Regions from separate parts of the Homo sapiens genome. Here region 1 is linked to region 2. Evidence: promoter capture Hi-C in 16 types of primary human blood cells and fetal thymus (Javierre and others, 2016). All regions are on one chromosome and are shown on one strand. Each heading gives the region's core, a stretch centred on a gene start or on the middle of the fragment in contact. The rest is flanking DNA. Distances are from core to core; before and after follow the strand shown.

Region 1 (3,853 bases), core at 1,031-3,530, 700 kb before region 2:
ATCAAGCAGGGGCCCCTGGGGTTGCTGTCCAGACCTCAGGCCAGTGCAAGTCTATCCCGGGCAGTTGATGCCTGGATGCACCAGTTCCTGACCTTACTGGATGTGGCTCCACCTGCGTCCCCAGAGCCCTGCGAGACCCTGGCAGAGGGAAACTTTGAGGCTTGGGAACCCCAACTGTTGAGCAGGCTGTTGAGAGAGTTTCCTGACCCAGGGAAATTTGCTTCTGGTCAAAGGGAATGTTAGGTGTGTCCTGAAGGACTCCCCAGGTTCCCTGGGTCCATGCATGGGGTCCCTGGAATCGCCCTGGGAGTCCCTCTGAGACTGTCCTGCTCAGGCTGCCCATCAGCCCCCAGTCCATATGCTATAGGGGCCCCCGTGGGGAGGGGGCATGGAGACACGTGGAGAGCCCGACACTCGGGTGCTAAAGGCAATGGGATAGTTGCTAGGGGCCCGTGGTCACCCCTCAGCAGGCAGTAATGTGAACCCTAATCCTACAAGTGCTGTAAGGCCCTGGGCCCTGTTCATCCACCCTATGGTGGATGAAATGGAGAGGGCATCCAGCCACCTGCCCCTCCTGTGTAGCCACCACGCCAGCAAATGGTGTCAGTAGCCTCCAACCCAGAGAGTCATCCTCAGCGCCTCCTCATGCAGCTGCCTTGAGTCCTCTGTTCCCCACTCACCCCTGCCTCCCCCTTCCATCACAGCCACTGCCACCCACTGACCGGGCGTCCTCCTGTCCTCAGCCTTCCTCTCTCCACACCCCCATCCCGCTCCTGGGACCCGTCCTTACCAAGGGATGAAAACCAACATCAGCTCCTACCCACTACTCTAGCCTCATCTCTCACCATGGTGCATCTCACACCTAAAACTGGCGATACCAAACCGCTCCCCGTTTCCTGAGAAAGCCATGTTCTCTCTTGCCTCTGAGTGTTATCTTTCTCCTAGGATGTCCTCCCTCCCGCTTCCTTGTCAGGAGCTAACGTCTACTCACCTTTTTAAGACTTACTTGCCGGGAGTGGTGGCTCATGCCTGTAATCCCAGCACTTTGGGAGGCTGAGGTGGGAGGATTACTTGAGCCCAGGAGTTTGAGACCAGCCTGGACAATATAGTGAGACTGCTTCTCTTAAAAAAAAAATTTTTACTTAGGTACCGCCTCCTCCAGGAAGCCTCCCTGACTCCTTCTGCCCCAGCCCAAAGGAGAAGGACCTGCACTGAGCTTCCTGGGGGCCCTTCACCCTCTACCACTGCCTGAACCTCACCCTTCATGACAGCCAGCCCCATGTCCACCCAGTGGCTTCAGGGCTCAGGCTGAGCTCCTCCTTTTCACCCCCAGGACAGCACCCACAGCAAGCATCGTTATCCATGCTCCTTGGGTGTGTCTCTAAGTATTTCTAGAACTAGGTATCTGGAAGCAGAATTGCTGTGTCAAAGGGTATGTAGATTTTGTTTTTTAACAGATACGGATGAAATTTTCTTCCACAAAGCCTGTACCATTTGTATCACCCAAGCACTATATGAGATTGCCCCTTTCCCCATGGCCTTCGCCAACCCCGGAAGCCATCCATCCACCTGCTGGTCTCCGGCCTAGCAGCCTGAGGGGAGGAAAGCCCATTGCTGCCGTCCTCTGTGCTGCCCAGCTTCCTAGGGAGGCGGACCATCTTTTTCTTATCTTCCCATACCCTCTGGATTTCTGCTTTTACGAATTAGCTATTCATATTCTTTGCCCATTTTCGATATGGTTGTTTGTCTTTTCCTTATTGATTTATAAGAAATCTCTGTATATTCTGTTTTTTGCTTGTTTGTTTTTTGAGGCAGTCTCGCTCTACTGCCCAGGCTGGAGTGCAGTGGCTCAATCTCAGCTCACTGCAACCTCTGCCTCCCGGGCTCAAGCGATCCACCTGCCTCGGCCCCGCAATTAGCTGGTACCACAGGCACACGCCACCACATCCAGCTAATTTTTGTTTTTTTGTTTGTTTGTTTGTTTGTTTTGTTTTTGGTAGAGACAGGGTTTTGCATGTTGCTCAGGCTGGTCTTGAACTCCTGTGCTCAGGTGATCTGCCCACCTCGGCCTCCCAAAGTGCTGAGATTACAGGTGTGAGCCACAGCAACAGGTTGAAATCTCTATATATCCTGATTATCAATCTTTATGGATTTTGCTTGTGTTTTAATCTTGTTTTAGGAGTGTTTTATTACACAGAATGTTAATTCTGATGTCATCATTTATCAACCTTTTTATGCCATTTGCATTTTGTGTATCATTTTGTGCCTTCTGTACCTCCAGGCTATAAACATATTCTCCTATATATAGTTTTCAGATACTTTTGAGAAAAAGAAGTATTTATGCTTAGCTCTTTTATCCACCTGGAGCTTATTTTTGCTTTTGGTGGGAGTAGAGATCTGGCACTCTTACTTCCTCAATATGGCCAGTACTTTGAGTTCCTAATGTTGAATAGTCCCTCTTTCTCAATTGATTTGAAATTTTATCTTTATTGTATGCTAACTTACCTTATATACGTAGGTCTCTTTCTGGACTCTGGTCTGTTATATTGATCTGTTTGTCTACCTACTTTTAAGCCAAAACCATAGTTTCAGTTACTCTTGTTTATAGTTTGATATCTGATAGGGAAAGGCTCTCTCATCCTTCTTTGTTTCTTTAACCTTTAAGGCCAGGTGCGGTGGCTCATGCCTGTAATCCCAGCACTTTGGGAGGCCAAGGCAGGTGGATCACCCGAGGTCAGGAGTTCAAGACCAGCCTGACCAACATGGTGAAACCCCATCTCTACTAAAAATACAAAAATTAACCAGGCATGGTGGCACATGTCTGTAATCCCAGCTACTTGGGAGGCTGAGGCAGGAGAATCACTTGAACCCGGGAGGCGGAGGTTGCAGTGAGCTGAGATCACGCCATTGCGCTTAAGCCTTGGCGACAAAGTGAGACTCTGTCATACACACACACACAAAAACAAATAAAAAAAACTGTTTTTTTGTTATTCTTACATATTTTCTTTTCTGGAACAGCCTTTTTGTCAAGCTCTATTGCAAATCCTGTAGGAGATCATATTTGAAATTAAATTTGTGCATTAATTGAAGGAAATTGGCTTCTTTACAATATTGCATTCTGTCATCCAGGAATGCATATATCTTTTCATTTATTCTGGCCTTTTATGCCCTCTAGGAAAGTTTTCTGTTGTTTTTCTTTTTTGGTTTTTTGGGTTTTTTGAGATGGAGTTTTGCTGTTATTGCCCAGGCTGGAGTGCAGTGGCTGGATCTCTGCTCACTGCAACCTCTGCCTCCCAGGTCCAAGCGATTCCCCTGCCTCAGCCTCCCTAGTAGGTGGGACTACAGGTGCCCACCACCATGCCCGGCTAATTTTTTGTATTTTCAGTAGAGATGGGGTTCTACTACGTTGGCCAGGCTGGTCTCAAACTCCTGACCTCAGGTGATCCTCCTGCTTCGGCCTCCCAAAGTGCTGGGATTACAGGTGTGAGCCACCGCATCTGGCCGGAAAGTTTTATAATTTTCTTAAATAGGTTATGCACACTTTCTTCTTAGGGTGACTATATTTGGAGTTTTTGTGCTGATATGTGTAGGATCTTTTTGCTATGATATTTTATAACTGGTTACAACTGATGTATAGGATAGGTTTTCATTTTTGGTGTTAATCTTGTCATGATAACCCTATTAAACTCTCCTTATTTTATTTATTTATTTATTTATTTATTGAAACAGGGTCTTGCTCTTATTGCCCAGGCTGGAGTGCAGCAGTGTGATCTCGGCTCACTGCAATCTCTGCCTCCCGGGTTCAAGCAATTCTCCTGCCTCAGCCTCTCGAGTAGCTGAGATTACAGGCGCC
Region 2 (4,187 bases), core at 2-2,501:
TATAATAATGATAGCTGAGATCAGTAGAGCACACGCTCTGAGTCTGGCACTGTACCAAATGCTTGACAAGTATTATAGTATTTATTACTCACAACCATCTCAAGAGGAAGGTATTATCATCATTATTTCCATGCTACAGAAGAAGGAACAGTGGCTGAGGGAAGTAAAAATAAAAGCACTTAGTCGAGATCACAGAGCTATTATGTGGAGCCTAGATTCAAACCCAGGAAATTTGCCAGCAACTCTTAACTGCTGCAAGAGACCACATGACTTCTCCTAGGAGAAAGGGAAGTTGGTATTACGCACATTTCATTCCCTTTAAGTGTTTATTGTGTAATATTTAAGATAGAAAAAATGTACATTATGCACAGATAGTGCTTCCTCATTAATTTATGTATTTTATATTTCCCACTGTGTGCCAAGTATTAGGGATGTGATATATATTCGCACGCGTATGTATATATATATATTTGCCATTGTGTACCAAACATTAAGCATGTAACAACAAATTCCTCCAGATGGAGAGGGTCACGAGAAAATTAAGGCAATGTTAGAAAAATCATCTAGAGTTTATTATCGAGTGCCACCTCCGTGTCTAGCATTACGCTGGGTAAGCCTGAGTAAAGAAGAGTGTCCGAAAACCCTGCCATAAAATAAACTACATAGACAGAAAAAAAGTCACTTAGTTTGGTTATAAAGAAAGGAGTCTTGTTCACACAGCGTAAAAACGAATCTTATAATCGTATTTTATAAGCATCAGAGGCAAAAGCAACTAGGGTGACGGGCTTTGGGGAGTGGAAAGCGCCGGATCCTGGGAGCCAGTCGCCCTACTCGATCAAGCATTTTCTGACGGCCCTATCCAATAACGTGGGGACGCAGCTGAAAACCATGCAAGCTGATCGCTGCCCTCCCGGAGTTTATGGTCTGGTGAGAAGATCCCTGCTCTGAGTCACTGCCAAGCTCTAGCTATGTGACTTTGAACAGGGAATTTCTGTCCCTATCTATAAAATAAACGGGGTTAAACCAGGGAATCCGCCATTCAAATTCCTGGCCCAAGTGTCTCCGGGGTCGCGGTGCCCAAAGGAGGGTGGGCGAGGCTCCCTGGGCCTGCGCTGCGGCGGCCTGACAGCGGGAGCGCTGTTCCGGCGCAGAGCGCGTTCGCGTTCCGAAAGCGCGTGTCCCTCGCCGCGTGCCGTCGTCCCCGCCGCCGCCGCCGCCGCCGCCGCCGCCGCCGCCGCCGCCGCCGCCGCCACAGCCCGCTGGGCCGGAGGAGGCGGAGCTGGCGCTGTCCCGGCTCTCTTGCGGGGAAGCAACTGAGGGGGCGGCGCGGCGGGCCCCGGCGGCCGAAGAGGCTGGCAGGTGGCGCCGTGGGGTGGGTGCTCCTGGTGAGAGGAGTCCACTCCGTGCGTGCGGGCGGAGGCCGGCCCCCGAGAGCCGCCGACATGAAGAAAGACGTGCGGATCCTGCTGGTGGGAGAACGTGAGTCCGCACCCTCTGGCCGGCCCCTGAGTCCCTGCCCTCCCTGCCCCTGCAGCCCCTGTCGCCCCTGTCGCCCCTGCAGCCCCAACCTTTGCAGCCCCGGCCCTTCTCGCGCCTCACAGCTCCGCTCGCCTTTCTCCGCGTTCCTAGGCCTTCCAGCCCCTTCACTCTTCTCTTTTGGCTGGCCGCCGGCGGCCCTCACCCTGTCACCTCACCTGGGCCCTCCAGAGATCTCCTTTCCCTGTTCCCCAGCCGTCCTCCCAAGCCATGTCCCTATTAGCCCTAACCGCCCGACCTCATCCCTCCGAAGCTTCTCTCCTCCTTTTCCTCTTCGAACCCTGTCCTTCTGGGCCTCACAGTTTCCCAGGCCGCCTCCTTTCAGACCTTCTTGTCTTCTGGAGATTCCCTTATCACTGCCAGGCAGGTGCTGGAATAAGCAGACTGACCAATAGGGATTGCGTGAACCGGCTCCCGGGGAAGCTGGGGGAGGGGTGCAGAACTATTCGACTTGTGGGCAAGGTCAGGTTTCTGCATTTTTTTGGCACTCGCAGTCTTCACTCTCTCTATGTATTGACATTAAGATATGAGTAGTGGAAAGGGCCGGATCCTTTTTAGCAGTACTTGTACTTTGCATTGGACTAACTCCTCGTACTCGAGATATTTCATCAAAAATTTTTACTCAACTTCGAGTTATGCAAGCGCTCAATGAATTAGAATTATCTGGGGAGGGTCCAATTGTTGTTACCCTAAAGCGTAATCTTTGCCCTCTTTTTAAGCATTATTTATTCCATAGTTACTTCGTAGTTAACTTATTAATAACCACAGGCACACAGACATTTGATATCTCCCCCCACCCAGAAATTTCATACATTTCACCTTTTGAAAATATAATAAAGGAGAGTTCCCTCTGTTCACTGACATGAGGACGCAACAGCGGGGACTTCTTGATTTCACTCTGCAAGTTATGTAACTCAGTTGCTAGGACTAAAATAAGAAAGTGGGCCAGGGATAACTGGATTGTTTGTTTTAAAGAGTTAATACATTCGTTAATAGTCTGCCATTGCTGTTTCGAAGCATTCTGTTTTAAACCATTATTTCATTCTTGGTAACCCCTCAGGGTCACCGTGATGGAATCCCAAGGAAGAAAGTTAACACGTTTTTACCCTCTTCTGTAGTGTTCTTTGAGTTCATTGAAATTTCATCCACCTGCTGTTTGGAGAAATCTTCCTTTAGAATTAGAATTTAGGAGTAAGCTTAGCCAGCCATAGTTTACTTTTTGATTTGCAGTTGTAAATTTTTATTTTTATTTATAACTATATCTTAATCTGTATTTTTCATGGACTTCCTTGACAAGGTTCAGGAAGGTGTTATTTAACATATAATTCATGCTTATGCTTTTGGAGCAAGGTAGGGAAAGTGAGTAGACGACTTGCTTAAAAAACTGATCCTTAAATATATGATGAAATAGTTTGTTGTTGTTGTTGTTTTGAGACAGAGTCTCGCTCTGTCACCGAGGCTGGAGTGCAGTGCCTGGGATTACAGGCACTGTGGCTCATGCCTGTAATCCCAGCACTTTGGGAGGCCAAGGCAGGCAGATCACTTGAGGTCAGGAGTTCGAGACGAGCCTGGCCAACATGGTGAAACCCCGTCTCTACTAAAAATACGAAAATTAGCCGGGTGTGGTGGCACACACCTGTAGTCCCAGCTACTCTGGAGGCTGAAGCAGGAGAATCACTTGAACCCTGGAGGAGGAGGTTGCAGTGAGCTGAGACATGCCAGCCTGGGCAGCAGAGCAAGACTCTGTCTGAAAAAAAACCTTTAATAATGCTCCCACACAGCTGGGTGAGGTGGCTTATACCTGTATTCCAAGCACTCTGGGAGGCTGAGGCAGGAGGATCACTTGAGGCCAAGGAGTTTGAGACCAACCTGGGCAATGTAGTGAGATCCTGTCTCTACAAAAAATTTAAATATTAATGGCTGGGCACAGTGGCTCACTCCTGTAATCCCAGCACTTTGGGAGGCTGAGGCAGGAGGATTGCTTGAACGCAGGAGTTTGAGACCAGCCTGGGCAACATAGTGAGACCCCGCCTCAAAAAAAAAAAACCACAACACTATTAGCTAGGCATGGTGGTGTGCACCTGTAGTCCTAGCTACTGGGGAGGCTGAGATGAGAGAATTGCTTGAACCCAGAAAATCGAGGTTGCAGTGAGCCATGATCACACCACTGCACTTCAGCCCAGGTGACAGAGCAAGACTGTCTCTTAAAGAAAAAATTAATTTTTAATGGCTGGGCACAGTAGCTCATGCCTGTAACCCCAACACTTTGGGAGGCCAAAGTGGGCAGATCACCTGAGGTCAGGAGTTTGAGACCAGGAAACTGACCAACATGACGAAACCCAGTCTCTACTAACAATACAATAATTAGTCAGCTGTGGCAGCACGCACCTGTAATCCCAGCTACTCAGGAGGCTAAGGCAGGAGAATGGCTTTCACCCAGGAGATGGAGGTCGCAGTGAGCTGAGATCACACCACTGCATTCCAACCTGGGGGACAGAGTGAGACTCTGTCTCAAAAAATATATATATATATTGATAATAGTAAACAGGATAGTTTTCATTTTAATGGAGTCTTCTTTTTAAATTAAATTGAGATATATTTGTTTTCTACTAGTTAAGTTCCTTAAGAAAATGGAACTGTTATCTTCTTTT

Evidence for each region. The method cuts DNA at HindIII sites, captures the fragments that hold promoters and counts their contacts. A CHiCAGO score of 5 or more calls a contact.
Region 1: a contact is called between a fragment that was not itself captured here and the fragment with the promoter of RHOT1 in region 2, in 1 of 17 cell types (endothelial precursors). The highest score is 7.8, in endothelial precursors.

The regions. Positions count from the first base shown.
Region 1 is chr17:31,437,823-31,441,675 of GRCh38, forward strand. All of the region lies in intron 3 of RAB11FIP4 (RAB11 family interacting protein 4), which reads left to right. Among named protein-coding and RNA genes, the nearest start is that of RAB11FIP4, 48 kb to the left of the region's middle. The HindIII fragment of the contact is 4,954 bases long and covers 1-3,853 here.
Region 2 is chr17:32,141,251-32,145,437 of GRCh38, forward strand. It overlaps RHOT1 (ras homolog family member T1), which reads left to right and starts at 1,252. Exons shown (of 20, transcript NM_001033566.3): 1 at 1,252-1,479. The coding sequence starts at 1,443. LOC105371730 (a long non-coding RNA gene) reads right to left here and starts at 1,885. Exons shown (of 2, transcript NR_136413.1): 1 at 1,775-1,885; 2 at 1-1,463. RefSeq lists an enhancer at 583-752 and silencers at 1,213-1,442, 1,473-1,532. The HindIII fragment of the contact is 3,152 bases long and covers 1-1,787 here.